Regions from separate parts of the Homo sapiens genome. Here region 1 is linked to region 2. The links are contacts of gene promoters, found by promoter capture Hi-C in blood cells and fetal thymus (Javierre and others, 2016). All regions are on one chromosome and are shown on one strand. The core of a region is centred on a gene start or on the middle of the fragment in contact, and the rest is flanking DNA. Distances in the headings are between cores, read along the strand shown.

What was found. Contacts are between HindIII fragments. The CHiCAGO score rates a contact against its expected background, and 5 or more counts as called.
Region 1: a fragment that was not itself captured here is called in contact with the fragment with the promoter of PCDHA2 in region 2 in 4 of 17 cell types (M2 macrophages, endothelial precursors, M1 macrophages and 1 more); the score reaches 7.2 in M2 macrophages.

Annotation. Positions count from the first base shown.
Region 1 is chr5:141,081,305-141,088,465 of GRCh38, reverse strand. It overlaps PCDHB@. Among named protein-coding and RNA genes, the nearest start is that of PCDHB1-AS1, 6.9 kb to the right of the region's middle. The HindIII fragment of the contact is 515 bases long and covers 2,066-2,580 here.
Region 2 is chr5:140,791,414-140,799,168 of GRCh38, reverse strand. It overlaps PCDHA2 (protocadherin alpha 2), which reads right to left and starts at 4,317. Exons shown (of 4, transcript NM_018905.3): 1 at 1,817-4,317. The coding sequence starts at 4,204. The region is part of intron 1 of PCDHA1 (protocadherin alpha 1); the gene reads right to left. It also overlaps PCDHA@. The HindIII fragment of the contact is 8,329 bases long and covers 137-7,755 here.

The sequences.
Region 1 (7,161 bases), core at 1,074-3,573, 290 kb before region 2:
GGTCTTAAAGCAGATATGGCTCCTTGGGACCTAGTTCATAAATGATGACATGATGATTAGGAGTGGACTGTCTTTTACAGCAAGAAGTTACATTTTCTAGAGTCTTTAATTATTGATGATCTCAGAATCCACACTGTAGATTAGTATAGCCTTGGAATTTACGGGTTTGAGTGATGGGTTTGCTTTTGGTACTTTTATACCAATGTAAATGCTTTATTAAAGTTTTCATTAAGTCTTCAGTAGCCCGGTAAAACCTTAAAGATAGTTTTATATTATACCTTGTATCCAAATTCCTGATAGAAAAGTGATAGCCAGGGAGGAAAAACTTTTTTTCTGGGATTACTGTACTGAACTACTATATATTACAGCTGAGTAAAATCACTGATAACCCACAACTTTGGTGAAGACCAATGCAGATTTGGATCTATGTGGGGACCCACCATCCAATATCATGATAGTTAAATTAACCTCAACCCATTTCTTTCCACTGAGAAAATTGCCCATCCTCATTCAGGATATTTTCTGCCACCATTCTCTAAGCAAACAGAAGAGAAGACATGGGAATTAGGATTCAAAATATACTTATGAATACTGCTCTGTCTACATGTTCTGCCATCTATATGGTCTCTACAAGATGCTCTCCTTGATTTTTTGCAGCATTCCTAGATCCAGTAATACACACTAGTGAATGGCTATATCTGTGAGTCCAAGGCACCTTGTAAAAATGTAACTCATTTTTCCAAGTTACCTTTCTCAAGGCAAATGAGTAACTCAAATGAGTTACATTTTTCCAAGGTGCTTTGAGACTCACAGATGGATCCAATTTCTATTTAGTACCCACTCCTGAGTCTTTTGATTTGAAAATGCAGTTTTTTAAATCTATAGAAACATGAATTACCCTCTCGCTCCCCATACCTCTCAAGTTCCCCATCCTAAGGCCCAAAATCTCTGCAAAATTAGCAATGAAGGAACCACTCTCCAGCACCTCTGGAACAGAATTCTGCAGTTCAGTATCCTGAATGGTACATGCTTAGTAAAACAGAATCACACTTTGTTTTAGACTGGGCTTTAAGTATTACATTATTCCTTCTTCTAACACCTTCCAGCAAATATGGTCCTACACAAACTCTGATCACCCTAATGTTTCTATTACTTATGCCACCAGAATCTTAGACATCCAATACAACTTTCACAGACAGGGTAATATAATATGAAACATACAGCACTGTATTTGCAATCTGCTTTAACCACCATTTGAGCCTGCAGTGCCATTATAGGACCGCCCCCCACCCCCCGTCAGTGCATTAAACTCTCTAGAAAGAAAAAAAGTATTTGAGAAAGGCAAATGAAAACACCAAACACTTTGTATTTATGTAATTATTATCCAGTGTATTGAATAATGTCTGTTTTCATTTTATCAGCAACTATCATAAATATATTAAATATCAACAAATAGGTCTTATTTGAGGCATATTCTGTTGTATCTTCTTTAATTTTCCTAAGCCATACAGGAGAGTATTAAACACTGACATAAAGAAAAAAAAGATAAGATTGTTTTGTCGGTCTGTTTTACATGACATTTAATGTACTGGATATGCTATGATATTAATTGCCAAAGAATTAATCATTTTTGATGTTTAATAAGGAAACAGTAAAAATTAACAAACACAAATTTAACATTGACATAAATAAGCTACACAGCAACTCAGTTGATTTACGTCTTAAATAACGAAAAAGACATTTATTTCTACAGTTTTTTTTCTTGTAGTTGTATATCTCCATTTGATTTCGTGGTCATCAATATCACCAAAATCATCAAATGACTATTTCAAATAAAAAGTTAAAACCATATATTAATAATAGTAATCAAGTAAATAGTTACTTAAACTAAGTAAATGGAGACCAGTCCTGCTGAAAAGTAGACTATCACAACTTGTCAGCCATCATTTACGAAATATCAAGAAAAGCAAAAGATGACTTTAAAATAAATAGCTTGACCTTCTTTGAGAAGTTACGAAGACTATCATTTTATGGATTGAAGTGGGATGAATTTCCTTGTCAAGCTTCAGAATATCTGCTAGGACAGTCTACTCAAAGTTTTAGGGGTAATTTACCTTTGAGAAAGATCAAAGGAAACTAGGCATGAGCAGAAAAAAATGCGTTCCTTTTCTGTGCTTAACAATAAAGAGGAAATACACTACTAGATTCTAAATAGACCTTTGTGAAATAGATAAAAAGATAAAAATAGCTAAGCCATCAATATCTGTTAACTGTTAATGAACAATTAGCTATGCTTCAGAAAAAAAACACGATGGAAATTAGAGCCATAAAATAACCAAAACATTCAGAACGGTGCTGTTATTCCTCTACCTTTTATCCAGAATCCAAAAGGAAGAACGCCAAGGATGATAGCTGTCTCTACCTACTGTCTTGTTTTGAGCTTCCTGGAACCTAATTTCATTGGAAATACAGTGATGTTGCGTGTAGCTCTCTTTTCTGGTTTGCATTATTAGGTTGTCAGATTATGGAATATTTTAAATATCCAATGAAAAGAAAACTCTGGTAGGAAGGATCAAAGCTTTTTCTTGTTTTGTTTTGTTTTTGTTGTTGTTGTTGTTTTATCTCAGGGTGCTGAGATTATGGTTCTTAAACAGATGAAGTCTTCCCAGAAGTGCTCCAGGATGAGGCAGATAAGTGTCAACATGACCAATTCTATGTGATTGTCATCCAATGGCATGGTCTTCCACCGTCCTTCACATGAAGAAACAATTTCTGAAACTATTTCTGCTTGTAATTGCCTGAGTATTTGCCACGTGGCACTGAAATTTCCTGGTAATTCTCTTGCAGTGGATGCTTATGATGCATGGGGTATCAGTGGTATTTAAAATGTTCTGCTAGCATTTAAAATGCTCTCCAGAGGTTGCAGAATTCAGTGAGCCTGGAGAATTCTGAGAGCCGATTCATAATTATTTACTCAGACTAAATCTTCAGCCGGTTGCTGTGAGACCTGCATCTCAAAGATTGTCATTGATTGTCATGACTTGGACTTAGGAGGTCTCAGATATCTACCATTCTTCTCTGGGAGAGTTAAACTTACCTTGGGCTGTGGTTCATCCAGCGATTTTTTTCACGCGTATGGACAAATTACTTACCCCAATATTGCACAGCACATTATTGTGAACATGGAAATTGAAAATGAGTGTGTAGTTTCCAATGATGGAAAATTTACCCAAACCTCATACATGTTCCTGGTGCACATTCTGGAACATTCAGAAGAATTTTTCAAAGGAGGAAACGGTTACACCTCAGACACAGATTTTTCTCAAAAGACAAATTTTTTTTTTTTTTAAATACAGGTAATTCTTGGAAATGCAGGGCTCCTATAGGTCCGATTTTCTACTTGAGAGCAAGGACTCTTCTGTGGGTCGATCTGAAATATTATTTGGTCTCTTTGGAAACTATCCTGCTCCAGTCTGTCCTCCCGCCGCTCCCCTTTCCGCCGCCAGCGCCAATCTCCAGAAACCCTGACCATAAAAAAGCAGTTTTCCTTTTCCTGGGCCGCCTGCGCTACACCCGGGAAGAAAATGAAAACCCACCACCTGCGTTTTCTGCCAGATTTTTTTCTCGCACAATTTCCTGTATATCCTCTGAGTGCATTGCCTTTAGTAAATGAAGTCTTCGGAAATCCTGTAAGACTTCCAAACATTTGTGTAGTCCCCATTCGTTTGAAGAAAGCTCTAAAATCTGAGCTCGCTGCGGACGTTTTCCAACTCGTATCTGTTCCCAGCACCTTTCAGATTTTGTCTTTTCTAAGATGGAGTCTGCAGGCAAATGCAGGGCTCCTCCTCCTCCTACTTTTTAGCCTGTAGTGCCACCAGGCGTCCGAACTGAAAACCTGGGCTGTACAGCGCTTTCCTGCGGAAACTGTCAAAATCTGTTCATATTCACATCTAGGGGCGGAATTCTCACCTCTTGAGTTTTAATTACTTCTCCAATATTTAGTTTACTTAATGTGAACAAAAACAATGGTTGTTTATTATCATAATATCAGCTGTGAGATTTCCTTTGAGAGGAACCGAATTGGATTTCTTTCATTTCAATCAAGCCAGTCATTTGGCCATAAATTCATTGAACTGATTAATTCTTCGCAGGTATTTTTTACACACAGATTATATTCAAGCACTGTAAAAGACATTGGGGATATAAAGTTGAGTAAAGTCTGGTGCCTACACCGCAGGAGGTTAGAATATTAAAAAGGTGACTCGGTGATTTGCATAGGCACTATCAGGTACTAAAAAGGGATATTTAAGAACAGAAGTGAGGTATCAGGAAGAGTCTCAGAGGAGGTGAGGTTTAAGCTAAGTTTAATTTTATGGTACCAACTTAAACACAAACCCATTGAAATGATTTTCTACTGCAGATGAAGTATTTCTGATTTTGCAGGAAATAAGATTTTTCTCGAATGATGTGAATGAACATCGTGGCCCATAGCGGGGTTGCAGTCTTTCAGTCAGTCAACATCACAGAGCCCTGTATGAAGTGTCAAGGGATGACAACTAAAAGACTAGGGATAGGGCCGGGCGTGGTGGCTCACGCCTGTAATCCCAGCACTTTGGGAGGCCAAGGCGGACAGATCACTTGAGGTCAGGAGTTCGAAACCAGCCTGGCCCACATGGTGAAACCCCGTCTCTACTAAAAATACAAAACAGCTGCATATGGTGGCTCATGCTTGTAGTCCCAGCTACTTGGGAGGCTGAGGAAGGAGAACTGCTTGAACCCAGGAGATGGAGGTTGCAGTGAGCCGAGATCATGCCACTACACTCCAGCCTGGCCAACACAGCAAGATTCTGTCTCAAAAAAAAAAAAAGGATAGGGATAGGCCTCTTTTTTCTCTTTGAACTTGGCTCACATCTCCAGTTTAAAGGAAAATCCTGCAGCTTGAGTTAACAATATCTTAAGGAAATATTTAAAGTGGTGATTAAGACTTTATGATGTTGGCTGGGCACGGTGTCTCACGCCTGTAATCCCAGCACGTTGGGAGGCCAAGGTGGGCGGATCACCTGAGATCAGGAGTTTGAGACCAGCCTGGCCAACGTGGTGAAACCCCGTCTCTACTAAAAATACAAAAATTAGCAAGGTGTGGTGGCATGCGCCTGTAATCCCAGCTACCCAGGAGGCTGAGGCAGGAGAATCGCTGGAACCCAGAAGGCAGAAGGCTTCGGTGAGCTGAGATCGCACCACTGCACTTCAGCCTGGGGAACAGAGCAAGACTGTCACAAAAAAAAAAAAAAAAAAAAAGACTTTATGATGTTAAGAGTCATATTCAAGTCCTGGCTCTGCTTCTTCACATACATTAAATTAGGAAAAGTATTTAATCTCTCCAAACTTCTGCTTTCTCATCTGAAAAAAATTATGGATATAATAGTGTTATCTCCTTCATGAAGTTGTGACAATCAAATGAAACAGTGCAGGCCAGGCGCGGTGGCTCACACCTGTAATCCCAGCACTTTGGGAGGGTGAGGTGAGCGGATCATGAGATCAGGAGATTCAGACCGTCCTGGCCAACATGGTGAAACCCTGTCTCTACTAAAATACAAAAAATTAGCCAGGTGTGGTGGTGCGCACCTGTAGTCCCAGCTACTCAGGAGGCTGAGGCAGGGGGGAATCACTTATACCCAGGAGGCCGAGATTGCAGGGAGCTGAGATCAAGCCGCTGCACTCCAGGCTGGTGGCAGAGCGAGATTCCATCGCAAAAAAAAAAAAAAAAAAAGAAAGAAAGAAAGAAAGAAAAAAGAAAAGAAAAGAAAAGAAAAAGAAACAGCGCTTATGAAATGCTCAGCTCAGAGCATGGAACATCATGGTACTTCATAAATGTTTACTATTATTAGTGTAATACTATGAAAGCAAGAACTTCTCTACATTGTCTGGTTTACTCCTACAAACAAATATAAGTCTAAATGACTCCTACACTGCACTCTATTATCCTTCTCCCTTACCTCAATGGAACATGCAGCACATTCTTATTTATGCAAAAATCTAGAACCTTTAAGCATAGCATAAGTTATGAGAATTTCACTCACAGTTTCACCCTTGTTGAATATGAATTATTTTCATTCCTGCATATTCAAACTCTCTCTTTTCAATGAATTATTTGATCTTATCATCCACCTCAAAAATCTTGCCAGAAGCTGGGCACAGTGGCTCACACCTATAATCCTAGCACTTTGGGAGGCTTAGGTGGGCGAACTGCCTGAGCTCAAGAGTTCAAAACTTGCCTGGGCAACAAGGTGAAACCCTGTCTCTACTAAAAATACAAAAAATCAGCTGGGCGTGGTGGCGCGCCTGTAATCCCGGCTACTCGGAAGGCTGAGGCATGAGAATTGCTTGAACCCAGGAGGCAGAGGTTGCAGTTAGCTGAGACCATGCCACTGCACTCCAGCCTGGGCAACAGAGTGAGACTGTCTCAAAAAAACAAAACAAAACGAAACAAAAACAAACTTACCAGGATCCCACACTTCTTTTCAGCTACCATCTCATTTCTATTAATTTCTTAAATATTCAAGCTTCTTGAAAAGATTTTATACACGTACTGACAATACTTCCTCAATTCCTCAGTCTCTCCTTAAACTTTTACAATTCGACACTAAAAGTGTTCATTAATTCACTTCCATAATGCCAAATTCAGTAGATACTTTCATTCTCTTCTCATTTGAACTTTCAGTAACATTAAACATAGTCCACTATTCCCTCCTTCTTGAAACACTCTCTTCTGACTCCTGTGACAGCACCCTCTTTTGAAATTTTTTCTCTCTACCCATTCCTTTTCAATCCCTTTGGGGACTCCTTATTTATCCTTTATATATTAAGGCTTCTTAATTTTGTTTCCCCTATACACTTTCTTTTCTTGTTCTATCTTCTGTTTCATGGAATTTTAATATAGCAATTGCTACATACTAAGTGTGCCATAGTGGGAAGACCCTTTAACCTCCCTGACCTTATTACGATTCTTCATTTATAAAATGTATAATGTGTTCTTTATACTAATACAATACCCAATTTCTACAAGACTCAATTTCTTCATCTGTGAAATGGGCAATAAATTCTTAAGAGACAATGAGATCAAAGATGTAGAGAGACATATTAAAATATATATTTTTCTTT
Region 2 (7,755 bases), core at 3,068-5,567:
ATAATTTCTACTACCACCTAGATGTCACTTAGACAACCAAGAAAAAATGTAAATAAGAATGTTTTGAAAAAACTTATAGAGCAACAGATTGTGACTCCTGGAGATTTGGATATATGTGAATATAATTTTAGAAGCTTATCATTTACCTATGGTAGAAACATAGTGGTCAAGTATTACTTGGAAATGGATATTCTGACCTAACTATGAAATGGCTAAAGGTAAGATCACTAGTGGAAGTTATTTCTATGATTTATCAATATGCACATATATTTAGAATAAACAGCAAATAACTAAGAACTAAATAGTAGAGGACCGTTTAAGACAGTTATTTTATTGCAATACATCTGCCTTTGGTTGGAAAAGCTAAAAAAGTTCTTTCCAAGTGTAACATTTACTTGTCGAGTTCAGTGTTATAATTACCCAAAATAAATGTTTCAAGTGAAAATGTAGTCATCCAAGACCAGGCCTCATCTTTTGGAAAAATTCCAATTTCATTAGGAATATGGATGCTTCCAGGTAAAATTGAGTGAGCTCACATTAATGGAAAATGTATTCCCACGCATAGAATTAGATGCCAGAAAAAAGTAGTCAATCTCTGCAGTGGGAGGCCTGCACACATTGGCCTAATGATAATGATACTGAAAGGATGATTTATCAACCATTAACATAAAGACTGGGTAGTCTCCACTTAAATGAAGAAAAAGTCCCACCACCTGAAAAACCCCAGTGTGATTTTTAAATGTTAATATTTTCAAATTAAACAAAATTGAGAGGGTCTCTTTTCTCAATACTCTCTATTTTTGCCTGATAACTCAAAAATGTTATCAGTGTGAAATCTTTATACCAAATAATGGGTTATTTTACTTATAAAAAACATACTTAAGATTAGCAGTTATTCCTAAGTGCTGTCATTTTGTTGTAACAACCTGTGCTACATACTTTTGGAAATTCTGGTGTTAAAATATCCACTCAGGCTGCTTTCAAATACAAATAAAAAGACCAGGTGCAGTGGCTCACTCCTGTAATCCCAGCACTTTGGGAGGCCTAGGAGGGTGGATCACTTGAGGCCAGGAGTTTGAGACCAGCCTGGCCAACATTTAGTTGAGACCAACCCCGTCTCTACTAAAAATAAAAAATTTAAAAAAGAAAATAGCCGGGCGTGGTGGTGGGCGCCTGTAATCCCAGTTACTAAGGAGGCTGAGGCAAGACAATCACTTGAACCCGGGTGGCAGAGGTTATAGTGAGCTGAGATCACACCACTGCACTCCAGCCTAGGTGACAGAGCAAGACTGTCTCAACAAAAACAAACAAACAAAAAAAAAATGTAGCTTATTAACTATTGCATAGACAAGGGCATTGTTGATCCAAAGAACAATCTAAGAAATGTCCAGGATATAGGTTATTCCAAACACTATCCGACAGATTGGATAGACAGTGTCAGTTGAAAATACGTATTATATAATCAAATTCTTTAATTTCTTCCGATTGTGATTTTCAATTTTTAAGAGAGAAAATATTTATGGGAAATGTTTAATTTACAAATTTTGCTGAGGTGTTTTTCAGTGTTTCATGGTCTATTACTTATGACTTAATGATGGAAGTGCCAAAATGTAAAAATAAGAAAACAGTTATGTAGATTGTTTAAATAAATTGTTCAGTAAATGCAATAAATTGATCTCTAATTCATATTCAAAATCGCACGGTAGGATGATATAAAATAAATGAAGAACTATGAATCTAAATAACTAGTAGAAATCATATAGAATTTTTTAAAAAGAACAATTTTAGAATTGGCAAGAAAAAGTAAAAGACTCACCTTTCCTACGTATTCTGATTCTGAGAGCTGTTTCTCTTCTGCGGAGTCTGGACCTTGAGATAAGCTAGGGCTGAAGGCCATGAGGTCCGTCTTGGGGGGGTCCTCCCCAGAGCACACCCTCTGCCGCCTCTGCTGCGAGTAAGACCAGCTCCCCACGGCGCTGGAGCACACCAGCGTGGGCTTTCCTGGCGCGCGCGCACCCTCGGTGGGTGGCACCGAGCACCGCAGCGCAGTGTACAGCAGCACCGTGAGCACCAACAGGCTGGATACCGCGCAGATGGCGATGATCAGGTACACGTTGACATCCACCAGCGTAGCCTCTGAGCCCGCGGCGCCCACCCACGCCCGCGACGAGGCCTTGGGTGCCTGGCCACTTTCCACCAACGACACTAACACGGTGGCCGTGGCTGTCAACGCTGGTTCGCCGTGGTCCTTCACCAGCACGAGTAGGCGGTGTCGAGGGGAGTCAGCCTCGTCTAGGGCACGTGTCGTGCTGATCTCACCCGTGTATAGCCCCACGCGGAACGGGATGCGAGCGCTGCCAGTACCCAGCTGAAGCTCGTACGAAAGCCACGCGTTGTAGCCTGAGTCAGCGTCCACTGCGCGCACCTTCGCCACCACGTGCCCTGCACCCACCGACCACGGCACCAGCTCACTCACTGCGCCAGCAGCGGTGCCAGCCCTAGGCGCCAACAGTGCCGGCGCGTTGTCGTTCTCGTCCAGCACGAACACCTGCAGCGTCACGTTGCTGCCCAGAGGCGGCACGCCCGCATCCCGCGCGCTCACCTGGAACTGCAGCAGCTCCACTTCCTCGTGGTCCAGCGGCTGCAGCGCGTACACCTTGCCGCTCTCCGCGTGCACCGAAACGTAGCTCGACAACGCGCGCTCGCCCACCCGCCGCTCCACCAGCGAGTAGGACACCAGCGCGTTCTCCTGCGCGTCCGCATCCCACGCTGACACCGTGAAGATGTGGCAGCCCGGCGGGTTGTTCTCCTTCACGAATACTGTGTACTCAGGCTGTGCGAACGCCGGCGCGTTGTCGTTCACGTCGGCCACCTCGATGGACACGCTGGTGGTGGCCCACAGTGAAGGCGAGCCCCCGTCCCGTGCGGTCACCACCAGCTCATAGGCTGACACGCTCTCGCGGTCCAGGGCGCTGTCCAGCACCAACGAGTAGTAATTCTTGAAGGTGGACACCAGCTTGAAAGGGACGTGGGGCGTCAGGGAGCAGGTGACATGTCCATTCGTACCAGAGTCGCGATCCGACACCGTGATGAGAGCAATGACAGTGCCCAGGGAAGCGTTCTCTGAGATGGGAAGTGAGAGAGACGTTATTGAGACTTCTGGTGTGTTATCATTGATGTCCACAAGTTTTAATGAAATTTTACAATGTCCTGACATTGAAGGGGTTCCTTTGTCAGTTGCAGTGACCTGAATCTCGTAGGACTTTGCTTCTTCATAATCTAATTTTCCCTTAGTTCTGATTTCCCCTGAGATGGGATCTATGGTAAACTTAGTCTGTATAGTGGAGGACACATCACTACCGAGTGAATACACAATCTCGCTGTTCGGTCCTTCATCTGCATCAGAAGCGTTTAACTTAACCACTAAGGTCCCATTTGCCGTATTCTCTAACAATTTTACTTTGTAAACTGATTGGGCAAAAGTTGGTTCATTGTCATTTACATCTAATACCTTAATAAGTATTTGAACGGTGCCCGTGAGCTCAGGTTTGCCCCCATCAGTAGCCACCAGTAACAAATTAACCTCAGCAGTTTCCTCTCTGTCCAGCGATTTCCCCAGCACGAGAGACAAAGATTCGCTTAGTTCATCATTTGCCTGTATATCTAGGAAGAAAAACTCACTGGAGCTGAGCTTGTAGGAGAGAAGAGCATTTACTCCTATATCTGCATCAGATGCTCCCTCTAGAGGAAACCGAGAATCAAGCAGCCTTGATTCGGGAAACCGGATAGTCTTTACTGTCATTGGAAATATTGGCGGGTTGTCGTTAATGTCCTTCACCTCCACTTCCACATGGAAAACCTGCAGCGGCCTGTCCACGATCACCTCCACGTGGATGCTACATTCCGCGCTCCGCCCGCACAGCTCCTCCCGGTCGATCCGAGAATTCACAAACAAAATGCCATTCTGCAGATTTACCTCCAGAAGGTCCCCGTGTCTTTTGGACGCCACCCGGAACAGGCGCGGCACCAGCTCCTCCAGCTCCAGCCCCAGGTCCTGCGCGATGCGGCCCACGAAGGTGCCGTGTTTGGCCTCCTCGGGGACGGAGTAGCGGAGCTGGCCGCTCCCCACCTCCCAGGCTGCGAGGAGCAGAAGCGAGAGCAGCCGTGTCCAGGCCCCTCGGCCCCTTCTGATAGAAGACGCCATTACCAATCCTCAATGTTTTGATCAAATTAGAAGAGCATGTTTTGCAAAAATTTAAATATTCTAGTCTCTGTTAAAGTCCTGCTGCTTCTCTTATTCCTCCGCTTCTCTGAAGTAACAAAGGGGCTCTGGGTATTTTCCTTCCTAGAGAACACTCTATGGTGGACAGCGACATCATGTGGCTAAAAGGAAGGCTCTACTGTTTATTCTGTAGATTTAAAACTAGTCGATTTTCTGGTTTAAGTTTACTCATAGCTTTCATCTTGGAAAAAAATAACTATTTTAAGCCCTAAAATATATTACCTTTTTACCCTTTTTTACTCTGGTTAAAAAACACACAACATAATATTTAAAATTACCATATTAACTATGATTAAATGTACATTTCAGTAATGTTAAGTATATTCACATTGTTACAAATTTTTCATCTTGGAAAACAGAAACTCTATACCCATTAGACAACAACTCCGCTTTTCACCGTCACTCCAGTCTCTGGTAACCACAGTCCTATTTTCTATTTCTATGAATTTCACTACTTTAGATATTTCGTGTAAGTGGACTCGTAAAGTATTTGTCTTTTTGTGACTGGCCTATTTCACTTAGCACAATGTCCTCAAGGTTCATCCATGTTGTAGCATGTGACAAGATTTATTTCCTTTTTAAGGCTGAATACTAGTCCATCGTATGTATACACCACGTTTTGTTTATTCATTCAAGCATCCGTGGATGGTTCCTCAAGGTTCATCCATATTGTAACATGTGACAGGACTTCTTTCCTTTTTAAGGCTGAATAATAGTCCAACATATGTATACACCACGTTTTGTTTATTCATTCAAGTATTCGTGGACATTTGAGTTGCTTCCATTTCTTGACTGTTGTGAACAGTGCTGCCATGAACATGGGTGTGCATATATTTCTTTGAGACCCTGCTTTCAATTCTTTTGGATATATTAGCATTTTTCACTATTTCTTCAAATGAAGAACATAGTAATCAAAGGTATTTTAGTCCATTGAAAATATATGTGTATATATACTGTTGTTTTGTGATTTAATTTTGATTTTTGAATTGTTTGCAAATGTTTTGAAATTAATAATTTATTTGTTTCTCATTTGGATAATGTACTATTACTTTAGAATATTCCTTTTCCATTACATTTAGACTTTTATGCAAGAACAATACAATCGATCTCTTTTTTTGTGTTAATTACTTGAGAATATCTTCTTTTGTTAATTTTTAGCTGATCCCTTCACAGTAAAAAAATGAAAATAGAATAAAGATAAGATGAGGATGAAATAAAATGAATCAAGGAGTGGGATAGCATACAAAATCCATAATAAAGGGTCACCTTCAGTTACTCTAACCATGTCACCAATTTTGTTTTCAGCTTCCTAGAGCAAAGAGAGAAGTAAAATTAATTGCAAAATTTGCAATGTCCGTAAGAGAAAAGCAAAGCTCTTGTTAAGAAAAGCTAGCTTTTTTTCCAATAACAATTTTTTTCCCTCATGTACAGTATCTTAAGATACTCATTTGTACCATCTATGGAAATGTGTATTTATGTTAATCATACTCTAACAGTAAATCCCAAGTTAACCGATTTAAGCAAAAATAAACCAGAGAATCCTGTACTGACTCATACATGGAAATGGGTAATTAATTACTGGTTTCAGACAGAGCTGGGTCTACACCCTTCCATAATTCCATAAGGAAAATAATCTCCACATTTATAATTCCTTTTCCCCTGCTGAACTTCTTCTCAGATAGACTTTTCCCATCTGCTGGCAAAATGGCCAAAGTAGCTTTCTAGACTAAAAATTACCAGTTTGATGACTCTTACCAGAAAGTGCTCTTTTCTAATAGTCCAGCAAAAATCCTGGATATTACTTCCTACAGCCCAGTTTGGATGATGTAAATTTCCTTTAGTCAATAATTGTGATTTTTCTCACATTGGCTAGACATGGGTCCACTTGCTCATTCTTGAAGCCAGGAAATGAAATCAGCTCCACCTAAATTATGTGAACTGAAAAGTGGGAGGTTGGTTTTTATGTGAACTGAAAAGTGGAGGTCATGGCATGTACCCAAATTCTCCTGGAGCTTAAACAGATGGCAGATAGCTTCAGAACTGCTCGTTACAGCATTATGTAGTTGCAAAGCAATTGCATATGTATGATACCCAGTAATTATTATTTAATCTATAGCCAACATTGACCACTGTTGACACATAGAAGGAATTATACCTAGAATCCAGATGCTAGCTTCAGGAAACATGGCTTGCTTGAGACAATTTCTGCAATCATATAAGGTAATTAATTATACCGGATATTCAGAATGACATATGTGGGGGTATAAGAGGCATTTTGTGCTGTTATTTAGGATTTCTGAGAATATGGAATATTTCCCCCTTCCCCCGGAGATAGAATACTATTGCCAGATATGCAAGTACATTTCCCCCACAACGGGGAAAAGAGATTAAGAAGCCATGCTCAGCAAATATCCTTCCTCCCACTGCACTTGATATCTCTTGGTACCTGTTTTGGGTCAAAGATACCCCAAAAGACATCACTTTTCTGAGGTTTAAATAAGTGACCTTATTTGGAATAAAGGTCTTTGCAGATGTAACAAAGATGAGGATCTTGATATGAGATCATCCTAGATTACAGAAGGCCATAAATCCAATGATGGTTGCCCCTTATAAAAGACAGAAAAAGAGAAGGCATATAGTAACACAGGAAAGAAGGAAATGTGAAGACAGAGGCAGGAACTGGAGTTATGCTGCCACAAGCCAAGCAATGCCAAGAGCTACCAGAAGCTGGAAGATCCAAGAAAAAAATTTCCCCTAAAGTCTTCAGAAGAAATGCGGCCCAGGAAACACGCTGATTTTGGACTTCTGGCCTCCATAAGAGAGAAGAAATTTATTCTTACAGAGACTCTGTAAGAAAATAAATTTCTGTTATTTCAAGCCACCAAGTCTGTGGTAATTTGTTGCATCAGCCCAAGGAAATTAATATAGTACCCATTGCTAAAATTATACCCTTTGCACCTATCTATGGAACTGTATATCCCTTAACGTTTACATGTCCAAGCACTCATTCTTGCAAAACCTTCAACCTAGTCTTTCACAAAACTACTAGAAGACCCCAGAAGAAAAAAACAACAAGGGGAGTGGATGCTAAGCAAGAAAAAAGAAGGAATATCTATGACATTTTAAATTTCAGTTTATTATTTTTCTTCTGCTACCTTTTATATTTAAGAAAAAGAAATCAAAACACAGTAGATTTTTTCCATGGAATTCAAGTTATCTAATCTGCTTAACGGTCAGATGTCTTAGTAAAAAGTGTCAACAATAATGTTCTCCTACAGTTGTATTTCCTGTTGTAAAAAAAATGCCCCCCTCTTAAAATTTATCTGGTTCATATTAGCTTAATGGCAGTGGGACCTCAATACATATGCTGTTGTGAGTTAACATTCAGTTTTTCCTCTAAAATAAACATAATTTTATTTCTTGCTGCTGCAGAGTCCTTTGTAGTTATTGGGGACTTCCTATGACAGCTTTTC